Regions from separate parts of the Homo sapiens genome. Here regions 1, 2, 4, 5 and 6 are each linked to region 3. Evidence: promoter capture Hi-C in 16 types of primary human blood cells and fetal thymus (Javierre and others, 2016). All regions are on one chromosome and are shown on one strand. The core of a region is centred on a gene start or on the middle of the fragment in contact, and the rest is flanking DNA. Distances in the headings are between cores, read along the strand shown.

The links. The method cuts DNA at HindIII sites, captures the fragments that hold promoters and counts their contacts. A CHiCAGO score of 5 or more calls a contact.
Region 1: a fragment that was not itself captured here is called in contact with the fragment with the promoter of TAS2R40 in region 3 in 9 of 17 cell types (M0 macrophages, neutrophils, total CD8 T cells and 6 more); the score reaches 8.1 in M0 macrophages.
Region 2: a contact is called between a fragment that was not itself captured here and the fragment with the promoter of TAS2R40 in region 3, in 1 of 17 cell types (neutrophils). The highest score is 5.0, in neutrophils.
Region 4: a contact is called between a fragment that was not itself captured here and the fragment with the promoter of TAS2R40 in region 3, in 6 of 17 cell types (naive B cells, M0 macrophages, M1 macrophages and 3 more). The highest score is 11.2, in naive B cells.
Region 5: a contact is called between a fragment that was not itself captured here and the fragment with the promoter of TAS2R40 in region 3, in 1 of 17 cell types (neutrophils). The highest score is 7.2, in neutrophils.
Region 6: a contact is called between a fragment that was not itself captured here and the fragment with the promoter of TAS2R40 in region 3, in 3 of 17 cell types (M0 macrophages, M1 macrophages and M2 macrophages). The highest score is 7.3, in M0 macrophages.

Annotation. Positions count from the first base shown.
Region 1 is chr7:143,413,830-143,417,004 of GRCh38, reverse strand. It overlaps EPHA1-AS1 (EPHA1 antisense RNA 1), which reads right to left. Exons shown (of 5, transcript NR_033897.1): 2 at 1,806-1,937. Among named protein-coding and RNA genes, the nearest start is that of EPHA1, 6.6 kb to the right of the region's middle. The HindIII fragment of the contact is 153 bases long and covers 1,849-2,001 here.
Region 2 is chr7:143,393,431-143,396,595 of GRCh38, reverse strand. EPHA1 (EPH receptor A1) reads left to right here. Exons shown (of 18, transcript NM_005232.5): 11 at 86-211; 12 at 1,092-1,277; 13 at 1,414-1,475; 14 at 1,582-1,788; 15 at 2,253-2,402; 16 at 2,732-2,925. Among named protein-coding and RNA genes, the nearest start is that of MIR6892, 12 kb to the right of the region's middle. RefSeq lists a silencer at 146-440 and enhancers at 378-1,088, 2,826-3,120. The HindIII fragment of the contact is 2,192 bases long and covers 665-2,856 here.
Region 3 is chr7:143,220,283-143,223,441 of GRCh38, reverse strand. TAS2R40 (taste 2 receptor member 40) reads right to left here and starts at 1,405. Exons shown (of 1, transcript NM_176882.2): 1 at 363-1,405. The coding sequence starts at 1,363. The coding sequence ends at 392. The HindIII fragment of the contact is 3,585 bases long and covers 902-3,159 here.
Region 4 is chr7:142,982,039-142,985,224 of GRCh38, reverse strand. No RefSeq gene overlaps it. Among named protein-coding and RNA genes, the nearest start is that of KEL, 21 kb to the right of the region's middle. The HindIII fragment of the contact is 1,891 bases long and covers 847-2,737 here.
Region 5 is chr7:143,370,190-143,372,987 of GRCh38, reverse strand. It overlaps a transcript of FAM131B not described here. Among named protein-coding and RNA genes, the nearest start is that of FAM131B, 8.9 kb to the right of the region's middle. The HindIII fragment of the contact is 7,431 bases long and covers 1-2,798 here.
Region 6 is chr7:143,045,827-143,048,908 of GRCh38, reverse strand. It overlaps the pseudogene OR9P1P. Among named protein-coding and RNA genes, the nearest start is that of OR6V1, 5.0 kb to the left of the region's middle. RefSeq lists an enhancer at 1-373. The HindIII fragment of the contact is 4,018 bases long and covers 1-3,082 here.

The sequences.
Region 1 (3,175 bases), core at 676-3,175, 190 kb before region 3:
ACCCTCCCTTCCTCACCTGGTCAAAAGTCTATCATTACTGTGATGACTAGGTCAAGTTAAGAAAGCTACTTCCTAGCCTAAGGGCCTACCATCTTTATAATAGTAGGAATATATAAAAATCGCTGTCACTTTCATATCATGTTGATAAATATTCCCATGGTATTCTAAGATTTTATAAACAGAAATTATCTGTGGCTCTCACACCCAGAATTTGAAGATATAGGTGCAATTACCAAATTTTCCCACTAGGTGGCTCTCATAGTTTATGACCCATGGCCTGGATCGCCTAAACTCAGGGATAGATTTGGAAATGTGTACATTAATTTCTTAACAGAGGTGGTTGTTATCTATATGTTCAAATGTGTCTGTGTCTGGGTAAGTAGATTTATAATACTTTCAAACTAGAACTTGTTAGAAAAAGATATAAATTACCCTATTACGATCCCTTTATAAATAACTTCTTCAAAGCAAAATGTAAAAGAAATCCAATCTGTGCCCAATTAAGAGGTCCCATACTTATCAAATACTTCTTTTACAAGACAACAATATAATATTACCTCCTGACAACAGAACCAGTAACTTCAAATAGTAAGCATGGGTTATGCCGATCTTCTTCCCAACCCTCTGTAGAAGTTACAAGAACTCCTAGCCTAGCTAGAAATAAAACTGAATGTTTTTCAAATAAATTATGCTTGCTTAATGCAGAAGACAGAGCTGATAGTTTATTTCAGCCCTCTCTTCTCGCAGGCTAGCTAAATTAAAATGGACTTCAAGACATGGCTGATTTATCACTTTCTCTTTCCCTCCTGAGCTCCAACCAGTACACTTTTTGACAAGGACCAAGCTATCGCTGTGCTCCCGGGGGATTCCAGTATTTAACACTTGTCTCAACCTGTTCTTATTAAATTTCTGTCATGCCCCAGTTCACTGAGACACATTTGTTCTCTTCCTTTCCCTCCCTCACTTCTACCAGCCCAAGCATTAAGGCAGCGTATTAACTTCTCAGGTTAGCAACACTATCTTCTCAGGCAGTCAAGCAAACAAGTTCAGGTGGAAACACAATGATTTCTCATGAGACGCGCACAAATATCATCGTAAGATATTTGAGTCACAGCCACTTCACATGACTAACCCCTCCACATTTTCATTTCATGACTCAAGAAATCAAATGAAATATTAGAACAATTGGGAATGGTTTTATTTGTACTTTGGTATGAGATATGTGCGGAATGGGGGTAAGGAAGGTATTGAGATAAAGGCTTGTATCTGAATACACACTTGGATATAATGCACAACCCTGTGTGAATTCCCGTTTGACTCCCTTTTTCTCTCCCAACAGCTCCAGAAACGAGCCCATCTCACTCCCTGTGGCTGCTACCATCCACCCTTCAACTTCAGCTTCCCCTTCCACGTGTCCCATCACTAGAATGCAATGCAGGTTCACAGCTTGTCAACTACCTTCTTGTCTCTAAAACAAAGAGAATGATTTAGAGGATGTTAATACTGCAGAGATACATTTAAAAAAAATCAGCACAGGGAGAATTGCCATATGTCCTGAAAATGTTAGAGTGGTATTTATTTTATTTTCATATTGCATCATAATGTAAATGGGTCGAAAGTGATCTCTCTTAGCATCTTTTTTTTTTTTTTTTGAGATGGAGTTTTGCTCGTTGCCCAGGCTGGAGTGCAGTGGCACAATCTCAGCTCACTGCAACCTCCGCCTCCTGGGTTCAAGCAATTCTCCTGCCTCAGCCTCCTGAGTAGCTGGGATTATAGGCGCCCGCCACCACACCCGGCTCTCTTACCTTTTTCTTTAGTTTTCTCTTGCCTCTTCTTGAGATTGAAGCTTCATCCAAACATCCCTTTTAATCCAGAGGCTGGTGCTACTTTCAGCAGACTTTATCCTTAATTCCCTCAAACCCATCTTGCAAATAAACCTGTACAGGAGGACACAAAAATAAAAAACATGTATCCTTAAATTGCATGGTGCCACCAGAAGCTTTTGCTTGTACACTTTCTCATATTTGTACTTTTCTCATATACTATGACCAACAACATTATCATCATTTCCCCCATTTTGCAGATGAGGAAGCGGAGTCTCAAAACAGCTAGGTGATTTGCCCAAGATCACTTGGCTATGAAGTGACAATATTAAAATCTTCTAAAATATAACTTTGCTTTTGACACTTCAGAGAAAACTTCCAACCGCCTCTATCTCAAAACAGTTCTATTTCTAGCAAGAAGACAGATTCCTAAACAGTATCGGGTGTCTTCCTCTTAGCAAACTGACTGGAAGAAGGGAGGACATGCAGGGTTTAAGGGGGAGGGTGTATAATTGGGACCTGTGGCACTGCTTACAGACCGCCTCTGCATACTTTTAATCAATTAAAAAGTTGTTAGGAGGCTGGGTGTCATGGCTCACTCCTGTAATTTCAGCACTTTGGGAGGCCAAGACGGGCAGATTACTTGAGATCAGGAGTTTGAGACCAGCCTGGCCAACATGGTGAAACCCCGTCTCTACTAAAAATACAAAAATTAGCCGGGCATGGTGGCAGGTACCTGTAATCCCAGCTACTCAGGAGGCTGAAGCAGGAGAATCGCTTGAACCTGGGAGGCAGAGGTTGCAGTGAGCCGAGATCATTCCACTGCACTTCAGCCTGGGCAACAGAGTGAGACTCCATCTCAAAAAAGAAAAAAAAAGAATCATTTGGGTTAGCAAAAGTCTAGTTTAAAAAAGGAAGTACGGCCGGGCGCAGTGGCTCATGCCTGTAATCCCAGCACTTTGGGAGGCCGAGGCGGGCAGATCACGAGGTCAGGAGATGGAGACCATCCTGGCTAACACGGTGAAACCCCGTCTCTACTAAAAATACAAAAAATTAGCCGGGCGTGGTGGTGGGCGCCTGTAGTCCCAGCTATTCGGGAGGCTGAGGCAGGAGAATGACGTAACCCGGGAGGCGGAGCTTGCAGTGAGCCGAGATTGCGCCAGTGCACTCCAGCCTGGGCGACAGAGCGAGACTCCACCTGAAAAAAAAAAAAAAAAAAAAAAAAAAAAAAAAAAAAAGGAAGTACGTTTTGTTTGGAAAGATTAAACCTCTCAGAGACACAGATAAGCCGGATAAACCATGAAAGTCGCTCAATGTAGCAATTCAAAGGTAGAACCTAAACCTGTTTAACC
Region 2 (3,165 bases), core at 511-3,010, 170 kb before region 3:
TGTGGTCCGCTGCTGGCCCTTCTCCTGACCCCCATACTCCTGAGCCCTGATGTTGGTACTCCCCAACCTCATGTTCTGCCCATAGAGGACAAGCTGTGGCTGAAGCCTTATGTGGACCTCCAGGCATACGAGGACCCTGCACAGGGAGCCCTGGACTTTACCCGGGAGCTTGATCCAGCGTGGCTGATGGTGGACACTGTCATAGGAGAAGGTGAGTCCTGCTGTGCACCGCAGCAGGCCCCCCGCCATGTGGGGCAGCACAGAGCCACCAGCAGGCCCCTTCCTTCCAGCGCTTCCCTGGGCAGCCCAGCTGGCTTCTCTGGTCCAAGAGTTTCCAGAGGTACTCACTCTGCTCTGCTCTGTATCCTCTTTGAACCATTGCGTTCTTGTTAAAAACCCCTCATCAGGTGCCCTGGAGCAACCCCTGTCTCCTACACACTTGCTTCTGTGGTTTTGGAGTTTCTGATAAAGGGCATTAAATACACTGTTTTCATCCACAGAGGTGCTGCTGTGCTGAGGGTCCAGATGTTCTGTGATGATGCCCAAATGTAGGACTCATTCCCTCCCTAGCCTGGCATTCCACCCCATCAGAGGCCCAGTGTCCTTGGGCTGCCCTGTTCCCTTGGGTCACCAGAGGAAATGGATCTCAGTGGAGAACAAAGCTTGGTGGTGTCCTTGCCAATTGTGCAGCTGAGCCAGGCAAGCTGGGACCAGAGGAGCTCACAGAAGAGAGGCGGCCATAGCCAGCGTCCCTGCCACTTGGGTACTAGTGCCGCACTAGCTTGCTCTTCATGAGCACGGCCCAGTCCCGCTCCACAGGGTTCATTCACCCTGCAGTTGCCGAGCGCCTATTGTGAGCCAAGAACTGTGCAAACACTGGGAGACAGTGGTGAATAGGTCACGGCATTGCACTCCAGCTCCAGACTCTGACCTTCCCCAGGAAGGACAGCCCACGCCCTGTCCCAGGAAGGGCACTCCACGCTTCTGATTCTCCAGAAAAGAAAAGGGCCGGAGGACTGGAGGGGTTGCTGCCTGTCCCCTGGAGGAGCCCTGCAGTGCATCGGGCCACAGCCTGTTTTCTTTCTACCCAGGAGAGTTTGGGGAAGTGTATCGAGGGACCCTGAGGCTCCCCAGCCAGGACTGCAAGACTGTGGCCATTAAGACCTTAAAAGACACATCCCCAGGTGGCCAGTGGTGGAACTTCCTTCGAGAGGCAACTATCATGGGCCAGTTTAGCCACCCGCATATTCTGCATCTGGAAGGCGTCGTCACAAAGCGTACGATGAGTGGTCTCCCTCAGCTGGGGGCGGGAAATGCAGGAAAGAGGGGTGAAACCACTGGAAGTGGAGGGAGGATGTGTGGCCAAGGGCAGGAAGCCCGGTTCTGAGTGTGATATGTGTGTCTGTGTCTCAGGAAAGCCGATCATGATCATCACAGAATTTATGGAGAATGGAGCCCTGGATGCCTTCCTGAGGGTGAGGAGGGCAGAGGACTAGCTGGGGAGGGGGATGCACCATGGTACCCTGGGCACTGGGAGGAGACCTGGCCCATCCCCTGACTCACCCACTCACCCTGCTGCAGGAGCGGGAGGACCAGCTGGTCCCTGGGCAGCTAGTGGCCATGCTGCAGGGCATAGCATCTGGCATGAACTACCTCAGTAATCACAATTATGTCCACCGGGACCTGGCTGCCAGAAACATCTTGGTGAATCAAAACCTGTGCTGCAAGGTGTCTGACTTTGGCCTGACTCGCCTCCTGGATGACTTTGATGGCACATACGAAACCCAGGTTAGAGGCCGGTACAAACCCAGTGCACATTCACATTGCCCCGTAACATGCCATTCATACAGTCACATGTATATAGGCACAAAGACTTGGCCAGGCACGGTGGCTCACACCTGTAATCCCAGCACTTTGGGAGGCCGAGGCAGGTGGATCACAAGGTCAGGAGATCGAGACCAGCCTGGCGAACATGGTGAAACCCCGTCTCTACTAAAAATACAAAAAATTAGCTGGGCATGGTGGCAGGCGCCTGTAGTCCCAGCTACTCAGGAGGCTGAGGCAGGAGAATCGCTTGAACCTGGGAGGTGGAGGTTGCAGTGAGCCGAGATTGCGCCACTGCACTGCAGCCTAGCAACAGAGCGAGACTTTGTCTCAAAAAAAATAAAATAAAAATACAATAAAAGAAGCAGAAAGACTCGTGCTCAGGTGGACACCATAACTTTCCGTCCCTGACCCATGTGCCTTCTTAGGGAGGAAAGATCCCTATCCGTTGGACAGCCCCTGAAGCCATTGCCCATCGGATCTTCACCACAGCCAGCGATGTGTGGAGCTTTGGGATTGTGATGTGGGAGGTGCTGAGCTTTGGGGACAAGCCTTATGGGGAGATGAGCAATCAGGAGGTGAGCCCAGAATATTCTTCCTCATCTTGTCTCCAATTCACACCTCTTATTTCCTCCCAAGGTCCTCCCATGGCCTTTTCCTGCAAATATCTTTATTTATTCATGACCTTCAGTTTTTCTGTACTCCTGGCTCCTCTGGTTCTTCACCTCATGCCCTGCTCTCTTTACTCCTCCCACCCTGATCCTCCCACTGTGATCGTCCCACCCTGGTCCTCCCACCTCCTCCCATCCTAGGATCTCCACTGCAATTATCTTGTGTGACCGTCGGTTTCTCATGGGCCTCCAGGTTAGCTTGCTACTCTAGAGCATCCTCCTGTCCCGCCGTGCAGGTTATGAAGAGCATTGAGGATGGGTACCGGTTGCCCCCTCCTGTGGACTGCCCTGCCCCTCTGTATGAGCTCATGAAGAACTGCTGGGCATATGACCGTGCCCGCCGGCCACACTTCCAGAAGCTTCAGGCACATCTGGAGCAACTGCTTGCCAACCCCCACTCCCTGCGGACCATTGCCAACTTTGACCCCAGGTAACCATGCAGGGGAAGGACTAGGGAACCCAGAGGCAGCGCTAGGAGAGTGGAAATGGGCATTCAGCCAATCTTCTTTGAGCGCTGGGCCTGGGGAGCTCTGGACCAAGTCCAGTGTATGAGGCAAGACGTGCCCTTGGGGAGAGTCCAAGAGGTCAGCTTTAGATTATGCATATTTGCAGAAAATCAGTTATGGCTGGGCCCCAGTTCCCTCACTTCACCTGGGCTTGGGGGTGGGGG
Region 3 (3,159 bases), core at 156-2,655:
ATCATGTAATTCTTCATCCAGACCATGATATTCTTGAGAATTAAAGGATGCTCAATTGACAACAGACAATAAACAGAGATTGTCCCTGGCAAACCGATATGTCTGGCCACCCTCTCCTTAAGGCTCAGGAGGAGAAGAAAGTGGAGAGATCTCAGGGCAGGATATGAATGAACATAGTTCAAGGAGCTTTCAAAGTCCATCTTCAGGTTTCTTAGTTACTTCTGTTTAGAATCTCAAGTTAAAAATTCAGCTTCATATTTATAAAAGGATCACGTTATCTGAGAAGTGTCAGAGCAGGTTTGGGAGAGAAGAGACGGGTGAGGAGAGAGTTCTACCTGAGGCAAAGGCAGAAGTGGTTGGACCAGGTCCCGCAGAACTCCGTGAGTTCCAGTCACAGAGTCTGCCCTTTTAGGTAAAGAGGAACTTGGTGCTGAAACCGCTTCCAGGCTCTTCTCAGCCCAGGGTTGCCCAAGATCAGTTGTACTGAGTGGCCGGCAGGGTAGGCAGCCATGATGATCTTGCACAAAATATTCCAGGAACTGTAAGTGTCAAAGATGTTGGACGTGGAAAGAAATAGAGCAATTGCATTGAAAATGTAGAGGATGAGAAAGTAGCTGGTGGCTTTGATGGCCCCTATGTGAGCCTTCATGCTGGGGTCCCTGGACCCTGTGGCATTGCTTCCCATGTGTAGGGTGTGTCTCTTGAGAGAGAGGATCAGCAGGGTGGCTGCCAGGATGAACATGATCAGAGGAACGAAGATCCCCATGTTATAGAAAAATACCAGGTTGACCATATTGGTCTCAGAGAAGTACTTCTTCTCCGTGGAGTTGGAGGAGGGGATAGGAATGGAGCTATTCACATACACATTGAAGACATCTCTCGAGAGAGGAAAGCTGAAGCTTAAGGAAACCAACACTGACAGCCTGAGAAGCCAAGGCATCAGCACTATGATTTTCCTCTTCATCAGGAAGAACAAAGGATGATTGAAGTTTGCAATTCTAAGACAATAGAAGACTTTGAGCCAGGCAGCAAACCAGAGATTGGAATGGTTCAGAAAGACAGTGATGACTTTGAAGAGGATATACACTGAGTTTTGGTTATAAACAATTCGGAATAGCAGACTGAAAATGTTCTCCAGCATCATCCAAATCTGTAGCAAGAGCCTGGAAAAGCTCAGCATCAACATAATGCGGTCACCAGTGGGGAGTGTTTTGCCCCTGGCCCACTCAGCCCCATAGATGGCCGTGATGAAGCCACTCCCAAGGATGCCAGTGATGCACTCTATTCCGGAGACCACCAAAGTGAAGGTGACCTTGAACTTGGATATGTCTTTATCTGTGGCATCTGTGTTCACCGTTGCCATTCTCTTTGATCCTGACTTTCAGGTTTCTGCGCCAAGAATGGGTAACTGCTCTGCAATCTTCTGACCCTTGCTCAATGTTATAATTTCTGCCGCCCTCATTAATGGTTATTTCCAATTTTTCTCCATTTGTTTATCACATGACTACAAGTTAGAGGCTTCACATGCAAATAATGAGAGGATCTGGTTACTGGGTCTGTCTCAATTTTTCATAAAGATACATTTGTCTTGGGCTTTCAGAAGCTCACTGGAAATAATTTGAGACATGTTTCTAGCTCAACACCTTCTTACCTTATTTACTTTAAGTCCACATTTACCTGATAAGCAATGAATACAAGGCCTTTTTACTTGTCTCACAAGATCTCTGTTACCTGCTAAATTATTTGTAAAAGCTCATACAGCTTTTAAAATCTGTTTTCCCCACTTCTTTTCTTGTCTCTCTTATTTTGGGAGAGAGTTTTATTTTGATAGTTACCATGTTTGTGAATAAGAAATTCCCATAAGCTCATATATGAACATCTTTTACTTAGAATTGAGTTTCTTCCAAAAAGGCCTGCTATTATAATGTCCTCGAATAGTATATAGAAAAGCCAAAATTGGATGCTATTCGAGTTGGAGAGAAGGAAGTCTCCATAGTCCCAGTTTTTATTGTTTGTGTATGTGTCATCAATTTCAGCTTACTGAGATCCCACATGACTATTTGAGCTCAGAATCAGGTAGAATGAGCCTGGGGAGAATTCAGTGTTCTGGACATGGTGTTGAAGTTTGGAAATGTGATAAGGTACTATGACTTGAAATTTAATTTCCTACTTTTTAACCCTGGCTGTGAACCAGAATGAACTCTGGCACTTTACAAGAATATGTAGATGCCCAGGACTCGTCCAAATCTAGGAAATCAGAACTGGACTAGGGCTCAGGCATGCTATCTTTTAAAAAAGCCGAAAGGTCTTGTTGCTCATAGTCAGGATTGAGATCCAAAATCTTAGCTGGAAACCAATGAGCCTTGGGTCAGATTTGGCCTGTAGTCATTTTACCTTGCATTGGTTAATGCTGTACAGCATTAATCCACCAGTGTGTAACTTTTCTTTTTGAGGGGTTCTATTGGCAAACATTTAAACTTAGGAGATTACTTATATGCATGCACAAAAAATCTATCTTCTCTTGAAAAATTAGAAGATTTGGCAGTATTGGGTCTTCATAGTGAACTGGCTGAAGCTGAGTAATGGCTGCCCATTTTAAACAAGGTATATACTTTTCAGTTTGTTGACAATACTAATTCCTAGTGTCTTCTTGACACAGAAGCTGAGTGCCAGTTATCATTTTCCAGTGTGCTTACCCTGTTATTTTTATTTGATTATTTTTCTTTTTGAGACTGGGTCTCACTCTATCACCCAGGCTGGAGTGCAGTGGTGTAATCATGGCTCACTGCAGCCTTGACCTCCATAGCTCAGGTGATCCCCACACTTCAGCCACCTGAGTAGCTGGGACTACAGATGCATGCCAACACACCTGGCTAAGTTTTGTATTTTTTGTAGAGACAGAGTTTCGCCATGTTGGCTAGGCTGATCTTGAATTCTTGGGCTCAAGCAATCCTCCCATCTCAGCCTCCGAAAATACTGGGACTATAGGTGTGAGCTACCATCCTTCACACCTTGGTCCATTATATTTTGGGCCTTGGTCCATTATATTTTTTAATAATATAAATTGATGAATGATAAAAATGGGTTTCCCCACCCCAAATTAATTTTATTTAAAATAAGGAAGTTGGCTGGGCGCAGTGGCTCATGCCCGCAATCCTA
Region 4 (3,186 bases), core at 543-3,042, 240 kb after region 3:
CTTCTCCCTCCTACCTATTCTATCCAGCAGAACTTGAAAATTGTCTTTAGATCTTCAAAAAGCAAATATAGTCTCTTAGTTACAAAACATGGTATTCTATCTGTAGTGGACATTTGTTGTGTTTGTAACTCAAAAGTATCTTTTGAATGTCTTTCTATGTTTGGAGAATTTCCCATATTATAAATCCCTCTTCTCCAAGATAGAAATCAGACCATGCTCTCCCAGACTCCCTTGCAGTCGCACAGGCTTTTACCAGAGCTTTGCTAATGAGATGCATCTGCAGCAGACTTCAATTGCCAAGTAAAAAATGGGAGAAAGAGTACATAGTGTGGATCACCTTTTGGCAAATATAGTGCCAGGGCCTCTGACCACCTGATTTCACCACAGGCCTCTGGAACCTGGCAGGAGGAGACTCCTCAACCACCATGGACACTCGAGTTGGCAGGGAGCACTACTTAGAGAAGCGGTACAGGCAGCAAGCCAGCTGATGTGGAGCCTGAGGGTTTGATGTGGGAGTGTCTGCAGTGGTGCACCTCCAGGGATGGCCATCCCCCAGGCCTGACTTGCTCCCATAGGAGACTTTAACCCTAGGGGAACTGTCGGACCTGATCTTTCAGGATGGTCTTGCCCATCAGACCAGGCTGGTCCAACCTGAACACCCCTTGGTCTACTGGCCTCTCCTAGGGCCCTAGCCAGGCCACACCTTCTTGCAGGGCAATCTCCAGTGCCCTGGGGGCCCACCACAATAGCTTCTGTGCTGGTGGACTGTGCCTCATCAGTGGACAGCTCCAGCTGGGTGGCTCCATGGCCACACACAAGCCTACCATTCCCTCCCATACTGAAGCTTCCTCCAGGCACATAGCAACTCCCCACATCACTTTGCTGGCACATGCCAACATGAGTGGAAGGGGTTTGTTTTCTTTGCCCTGTCAGTGGAGGGGAGAGCAGTCTGCTCTACTTCCCTTTGCAGGCTGCCATTGCAGATGGAACCTTGGTGGGCACAGAGTCAGAAGCCCCACCCCTGCCAGTGCCTGGCCCCGAACTAACACTGTGCAGAGAACAGCACATCCTCCTCCACCCTGAACAATCACTCCTGCTTGTGGGGCATAGAGAAGGCACCCTGCACCAGCCAACACCCCACACCAGACCCAACACTACCTCCAGTGCAACTATACACAGTGTCCAGCAGGGTGCCTCACCCCACTGTCCCCCACCCCAGCTGCATTGCCTCTGTCACTGTGGTGAACAACTGCAAGGAGGCAGGCACTTGGCACCCACTAGCACTCTGCCACAGCTGCTGCACCTCACTGCACTACCCCCACCACCAGCACACTGCATGCCATGCCTCAAAGAGCCAGAGAACAAAACTGGGGCCTAATGCAAGTCCTCCAGTTAGAGAACACAGTATAGGAGTTGGAGCTAAGCATTGGCTTCCTAAAATCCTTCAGAAATGAAGCTAGTTCACTGAACCCACCTTATACCACAATCAGACCCTCAAGGTCATCAAATAGGTTTTAAAAAAAAAAAAATCCAAAGGTCAACAACCTCAAAGATTGAAGGTAGATAAGCCCACAAAGATGAGAAAAAAAACCTGATGGAAGAACACTCAAAACTTGAATAAAAATAAAAGAAAAACTGCAGTCCCTTCTTTCCTCCAAATGACCACATCACCTCTCCAGCAAGCATTCTGAACTGGGCTGCCATGGATGAAATGACAGAAATAGAATTCAGAATATGGATAGAAATGAAGATCATTGAGATACAAGAATATGTTGAAACCCAATTCAAGGAAGCTGAAAACCATGATAAAACAATGCAGGAGCTGACAGACAAAATAGCCAGTATAGAAAAGAATATAACTAAGCTGATAGAGCTGAAAAACACACTATGAGAATTTCATAATGTAATCACAAGTATTAGTAGAAGAATAGACCATGTGGAAGAAAGAATCTCAGAACTTGAAGACTGGCTTTCTGAAATAAGATAGTCAGACAAAAATGGAGAAAAAAGAATGAAAAGGAATGAACAAAACCTCTGAGAAATATAAGATTACGTAAAGAGATTGAGTAACTCATCATTGTCCCTGAAAGACACTGGGGAGAATGGAACCAACTTAGACAATGTATTTCAGGATATAATCCTTGAGAACTTCTCCAACCTAGCTAGAGAGGCCAACATTCAAATTCAGGAAATGCAGAAAACTCCAGTAAGATGCTACTCAAGAAGAACATCCCCAAGACGTGTAATCATCAGATTCTCCAAGGTCAAAATGTTAAAGGCAGCTATAGAGAAAGGTCAGGTCACCTACAAAGTGAATCCCATCAGACTAACAGTGGACCTCTTGGCTGGGTGCGGTGGCTCATGCCTGTAATCCCAGCACTTTGGGAGGCCAAGGCAGGTGGATTACCTGAGGTCCGGAGTTCAAGAGCAGCCTGGCCAACATGGCAAAACCCCATCTCTACTAAAAATATAAAATTTAGCTGGGCATGGTGGTGTGCACCTGTAATCCTAGCTACCCAAGAGGCTGAGGCAGGAGAATCACTGGAACCTGGGGGGGCAGAGGCTGCAGTGAGCCGAGATTGCACCACTGCACTCCAGCCTGGGCAACAGAGCAAGACTCCATCTCAAAAACAAAACAAAACAAAACAGTGAACCTCTCAGCAGAAACTTTACAAGCCAGAGGAGATTGGGGGCAAGAAATTCCAAACCAGAATGTCATATCTGGCTAAACTAAGCTTCATAAGCAGAGAAATAAGATCCTTTCCAGACAAGCAAATGCTGAGGGAATTTGTTACCAACAGATGTGACTTACAAGAGCTCCTGAAGGAAGCACTAAATATGGAAAGGAAAGACTGTTGCCAGCCCCTACAAAACACAATGAAGTACACAGACCAGTGACACTATAAAGCAACCACATAAACAAGTCAGCAAAATAATCAACTAACATCATGATGGAAGGATCAAATTCATACATATCAACATTAACCTTAAAAGTAAATGGGCTAAATACCCTAATTAAAAGACTGGAAGCTGGATAAAAGAACTATGACCCATTGGTATGCTGTCTTCAAGAGACCCATTTTACATGCAATGACATACATAGGCTCAAAATAAAGGGATGGAGAAAAGTCTACCAAGACAATGGAAAACAGAAAAAAACAGGGATTGCAATCCTTGTTTCTGACA
Region 5 (2,798 bases), core at 299-2,798, 150 kb before region 3:
TTATTATTATTATTTTTTAATGTTTTTGACATGGAGTTTTACTCTTGTTGCCCAGGCTGGAGTGCAGTGGCACAATGTCGGCTCAACTGCAACCTCCGCCTCCCGGGTTCAAGCGATTCTCCTGCCTCAGCCTCCCAAGTAGGTGGGATTACAGGTGCCCACCACGACACCTGGTTAATTTTTGTATTTTTAGTAGAGACGAGGTTTCACCATGTCGGCGAGGCTGGTCTCGAACTACTGATCTCAGATGATCCGCCTGTCTCAGCCTCCCAAAGTGCTGGGATTACAGGCATGAGCCACTGTGCCAGGCCTTAAAAATTATTAATGAGGTATTTTACTTTTTTGGCACTAAGTCATGGGAATTTGGTGTGTATTTTACACTTACAGCATGTCTCAATTCACGCTAGTCCCATTGCAGGTGCTCAAAGGTTACACATTGCTGGTGGCTCCCACATTGCATAGCAAGTTCTAAATAGACCCTGAGCCATCTCTGTACAATCCTAATTTTAAGCCACACTTTCTCCAACCAGCTCCTTCTATTTTTCTAGTCATTCTCTTTTTGTGCTTCGACAATCCCTTGGCCCACTGGAACTTGCCATTCACGTCCATACCAGCTCACATTTCCTGGACAATCATTACAGTCACTCCCTTACATCTGTCTCAACTTCCTGTGCCTCTTTCTCACCCTGTGGTGCTCACTTGGCAAAACCCCAGCCTGGGCTGAGTCCAATTCTACCAACTCCATGCCTGCACCCACACAGCTGGGTGGCACTACAGAAAAACATACAGCCCTTCTGACAGATCTCATTGTAAACTCCATGGCTGTGAGCTGCAGATGCCATCTGACCTTTCTACGTCCTGATAAACATACCAGTCTCGTTTTTCCATCCACTCTCCCACTCTGACTCTCTCAGAAGGCTTCTAGACCTTCTCCTCTCTCTCCACATCTCCTTCCACATCCTCATGCATAGCTGATGCCTTGCTTCCTGTTGCAAGGAGAAAATTAAACAAATTGAAAAAAAACCTTTCCTAGGCTCTACCTACATCAAATCAAACTAATCCCACATGCTCTCTGGCCTCATCTCCCAGCAATCATTTTGCCTCAGCCACAATGGCCTTGTTACTGTTCCTCCAATGTGTAAGGCACATTCCCATCTCAGGGCCTTGCATTTGCTAGTTTCTCTGCTGGGAAGGTTCTTCCACAGACATCTGTATGGATCACCCCATTATCTCCATCATAGCCTTCCTCACATGCTGACCTCTCAGTGAGGCCTCCCATGACCATCCAGTTTAGAATGACATATACCAGCCCTTTCATTATTATCCACCTCTCCTTTCTTTTTTTCTTTTCTTTTTTTTTTTTTTTTTTTTTTTGAGACAGGGTCTTGCGGTGTTGCCCAGGCTGGAGTGCAATGGCATAATCATGGCCCACTGCAGCCTCTACCTCCCAGGCCCAAGCAATCCTCTCATCTCAGCTTCTCAAGTAGCTGGGACCACAGGCATGTGCCACCAGGCCTGGCTAATTTTCTTTTTCTTTTTGTAAAGACAAGGTCTCCATATGTTGCCCAGGCTGGTCTTGAACACCTGAGCTCAAGCAATCCTCTCACATCAGCCTCCCAAAGTGCTGGGATTACAGGCATGAGCCACCACGCCTGGCCCTTCCTTAATTTTTCTTCATAGTAATTATCACCTTAAATATATCATTCCATCCTGGGTTTTGGCACTCCCCCACCAAACAATTCAGTCTCTTAATTGTTGTATTGCTGTTTCTGCCCCACCACTTCTCACTAGACTATAAGCTCCGTGACAGCAGGAGTTTTGGATCGTAGAACCTAGAGAGGTACTGACATAGAGTAGGTAGGTGCTCCTTAAATACCTGTAATATGGAATGAATGAATGAATAATGGAAAAAACTAACAAAAAAAGACAAAGAAGGAGCAGCCGGAAAGTCAAGAGGAGAACCAAGAAAGAGTGTTTGGGAATGAGGGAGTAACCATGAGTCCCTCACGAGGGTATGAAATGCCCCTGATGTGCCACTTAAGGTTAGAAATGAACAAAATCTGTTAACATGGAGGCTAAGGGTGTTACTGGAAAGAAGTCCCAATCCAGACCCCAAGAGAGGGTTCTTGGATCTCGCACAAGAAGGAACTCAGGGCGAGTCCATAGAGGAAAGTAAAAGCAAGTTTATTAGGAAAATAAAGGAATAAAGAATGGCTACTACACACACAGAGCAGCCCTGAGGGCTGCTGGTTGCCCATTTTCATGTGTGTGTATTTTTTTAAATTATATGCTAAACAAGGGGTAGGTTATTCATACCTCCCCATTTTAGACCATAAGGTAACTTCCTGAGGTCGCCATGGCATTTGTTGGCGCTGGTGGGAGGGTAGCAGTGAAGACCAGAGGTTACTCTCGTCGCCATTTCGGTTTTGGCGGGTTTTAGTCAGCTTCTTTACTGCAACCTGTTTTATCAGCAAGATCTTTATGACCTATGTCTTGTGCTAACTTTTTATCTCATCCTGTGACTTAGAATGCCATAACCGTCTGGGAACACAGCCCAGCAGGTCTTAGCCTTGTTTTACCCAGCTCCTATTCAAGATGGAGTTGCTCTGGTTCAATTGCCTCTGACAGGGGAGCCCCCCGTGTGAGCTGCTTCAGTAGAGTGAAGATGCCAGATTGGGTAAGTTGAGGAGTGCAGAGAAGTAAGGAAATGGAGAAGATGAGTGCCGGCAGCTCTTTCAAAAATTTTGGCTGTGAGAGAAACTAGAGCTCCAGGAAGAGAAAGATCAAGGGGCAAATTC
Region 6 (3,082 bases), core at 577-3,076, 170 kb after region 3:
AGGGGTTGACCAGGCAATCTTTCTGTAGGACTTGAGCTTGGAACTGAGATTTGGAGCTGACCCATTGAAAGCAAAGAAGAGGCTGGGAACGGTGGCTCATGCCTATAATCCTAGCACTCTGAGAGGCCAAGGTGGGTGTATCACTTGAGGTCAGGAGTTCCAGACCAGCCTGGCTAACATGGTGAAACCCTGTCTGTACTAAAAATACAAAAAATTAGCCTGTAATCCCATTTACCCAGGAGGCTGAGGCAGGAGAATTGCTTGAGCCCATGAGGCAGAGGTTGCAGTGAGCCAATATCGTGCCACTGCACTCCGGCCTGGGTGGCAAAGCAAGACTTCGTCTCAAAACAAAAACAAAAACAAAAAGAAAGAAAGTAAAGAAAAATGTAGGTCACAAGGCTAGAAATGGAGGAGGAAGAAGAAAGGAGCCAGTTGCTAGCAGGGAGCTCAGGTAGGAAGACAGGTCCTGGGCAGAGCAGGGCTGGAGGCAGGGGCTTGGGAATTGAAAGGCAGGAGCATAGGTCGGGGCTACATGGGCCTTCATGACTATTCATTTTCTATTGCTTCTGTAGCCAATTACCACAAATTTTGTAGCTTAAACAACACAAATTTATTACCTGACAAATTCTCCAGGTCAGTAACTTGACCAGGCCTCAATGAGCTAAAATCAAGGCGTCATCAGGGCTGCCTTCCTTTCTGGAGTCTCCTTGCTTTTCCACCTTCTAGAAGCTGCCCACATTCCTTGGCTTATTGTTCCCTCGTCCATCTTCAAAGCCAGTCACATGTGTCTCTCAGAACCGTCTTCTGTCATCACTTAGCCCTCTGACTGAACTCAGAGGAGAAGTTTCTCCACTTTTACAAATCCCTAAGATTAGATTCAGCCCATCTGGATCACCCCTAAGATTAGATTCAGCCCACCTGGATCGCCCAGGCTAATCCCCTCATCTCAAGGTCTTCAACCCAATCACACCTGCAAAGTCCCCTTTCCTATGTAAAGCAACATTTCACAAATTCCAAGGATTAGGGCTTGGACATCGTTGAGGGGGCATTCCTCTGCCTATCGCAATGACTACCATGCAGCTTTGGTGCCTGGTGAACCACTTATTTGACCAGATCCATTCATCTTTACACAATTGTGTTCATTCCTTAATAAATATGTAGCGTCAACTCGGTTAAATGATCATAACATAGAGCAGGCTCCATAATCCAGGAGCATAATCCTAAATCTGTCCTTATTTCCTTTGGGATTAAAGGCATGTGGAGCAATGTTAATTCTTGTTTCCTTTCTAGCCTTCCCAGAGAGAAAGAGCTAGGATTGAAACAGCGAGGGGAACTACTCTAGTGCCACTCAATTCTGTCTCCTGGGCTTCCCAGGCTTTGAGGAACTGCCCCATTTCCTTTTGGTTAACTTCTTCTTTCACTTGATGAGATTAATGGGAAATGCAGTCATTTACATGGTTGAATTGATGAAGTCTTCAGTCTCCCGGGGATTTCTTCCTCAGTCAACTCTTCATCTTTTCACACAGTCTATTAATGGACATTTCCATTGTTATTGCTTCTTTGATCCAGATTGATTCCTACTCCAGTATCCCCTCAGCCTCTGGCCAAAAAATAATCCTTCTCCACTCATGCCTCCCATTTCACCTGTGTGGTGATTGACTATGACAGCTGCTTGTTTCTCTACGTGAAACCCAAGCAAATTTGGGCAGCAGAATAAAACAAGGTAGTTTTCCTGTTTATTTTCCTGTTGACCCCCTTTCTGAACCTTCTTACAGGTCAGATTTACTGACCTAAATCAGTTTTAGGTGGGCCAGTCCTCATGGATTCTAAGGTAATCTGGAAAATACTAACAAATATCTAAGCTAAAGCATCTTTATTTTCATCATCAAACCATATGTAATTATCACACTCAGGCCCTTGGAAGTGGGCAAAATACACAAACATAAAAACCAACCTGCTTATCAGTAACTGATAATCTGAGCTACTTCTTGTTTCAGTTGTTTTGTAATAAAATTATTGTTTTGTTTTTGAAAATCTGAAGAAGAAAATGCCTGAAGTCGGGGAAGAGCTTGAGAAAGGAGCTGTATATGTTCCTGGGGGCGTTAGATTGCACTGTAATCATCTCTGAATGTGCATTTCCAGAAGAGGAAGAGAGTCCAGGGACTACAATAAAAATGTCAGCACCTCTGCTCAGATCTGCCCTACTGTTTCCTGGGATATGTTGACATTTTGACTTGCATTATTAGACTCAATCTCATAAAGCTGTGCCTGGCCATTAGGTGAGACACAGATTACTCCCTGGTGTACTCTTTTTCTTGGATGTGCCATATCTAATCTTGGCCCATTGCTACTACAAAGCAACTCTTTTTCTCTACATTTTGGCATAAAGCCAACTTGGAGTGGCACGAGGACAATATGTTTAGAAAGGGGTGGATGGAATGTTTGAACATGTTTGGTGGTAGGGACAGAAGAAAATTTATGATCAAATTTTTGGCAACTATTTAACTCATCTCGTTTTGTTCATGGTAAAGGAAGGAGGTAAGGAAGGATTGAATGGCTCACTCTAGATGCCTGAATTTTTTCTTTATATGCTACAGGAATCCTTTGTTTTCATGATGTGCTCTGCCTCCCAAAGCCAGATATCCTCTGACTGGGGGCTTTTCTGCCCCAATCTCCAGCTGTCTTCTATGACATCTCTGCAGATTTTCACTGCTGGCAGAGTTGAGAGTGGGAGTTTCCTCCCTCAATTCTGACTTACTAACAAATCAGGGGATGGGGTAGCTCCCTATTAATGCACAGAAATATGTAACTGCTAGATTTTCAGACAGATTGGAGGAAGAAATTATCTCACATGATAATACCTGTAGGCTGGAATCAGACAGAAAATAGTTTTCTTGAGAATTGATGTGGGTCACCTGGAGAATTGAAGAGTCTAGCAAGAGGGCACTTGCCTGGTGGTGGATGGAGATAGGAGCTGAATTAGGGCCCCTGAGTAAAATTGTGTGGCTTGTAGACTGTACAAAGGTGGTGATGGAGAGACTGAAGGGGCACATGGGGGCTGAAGGAGCTGCATCTACCTGAT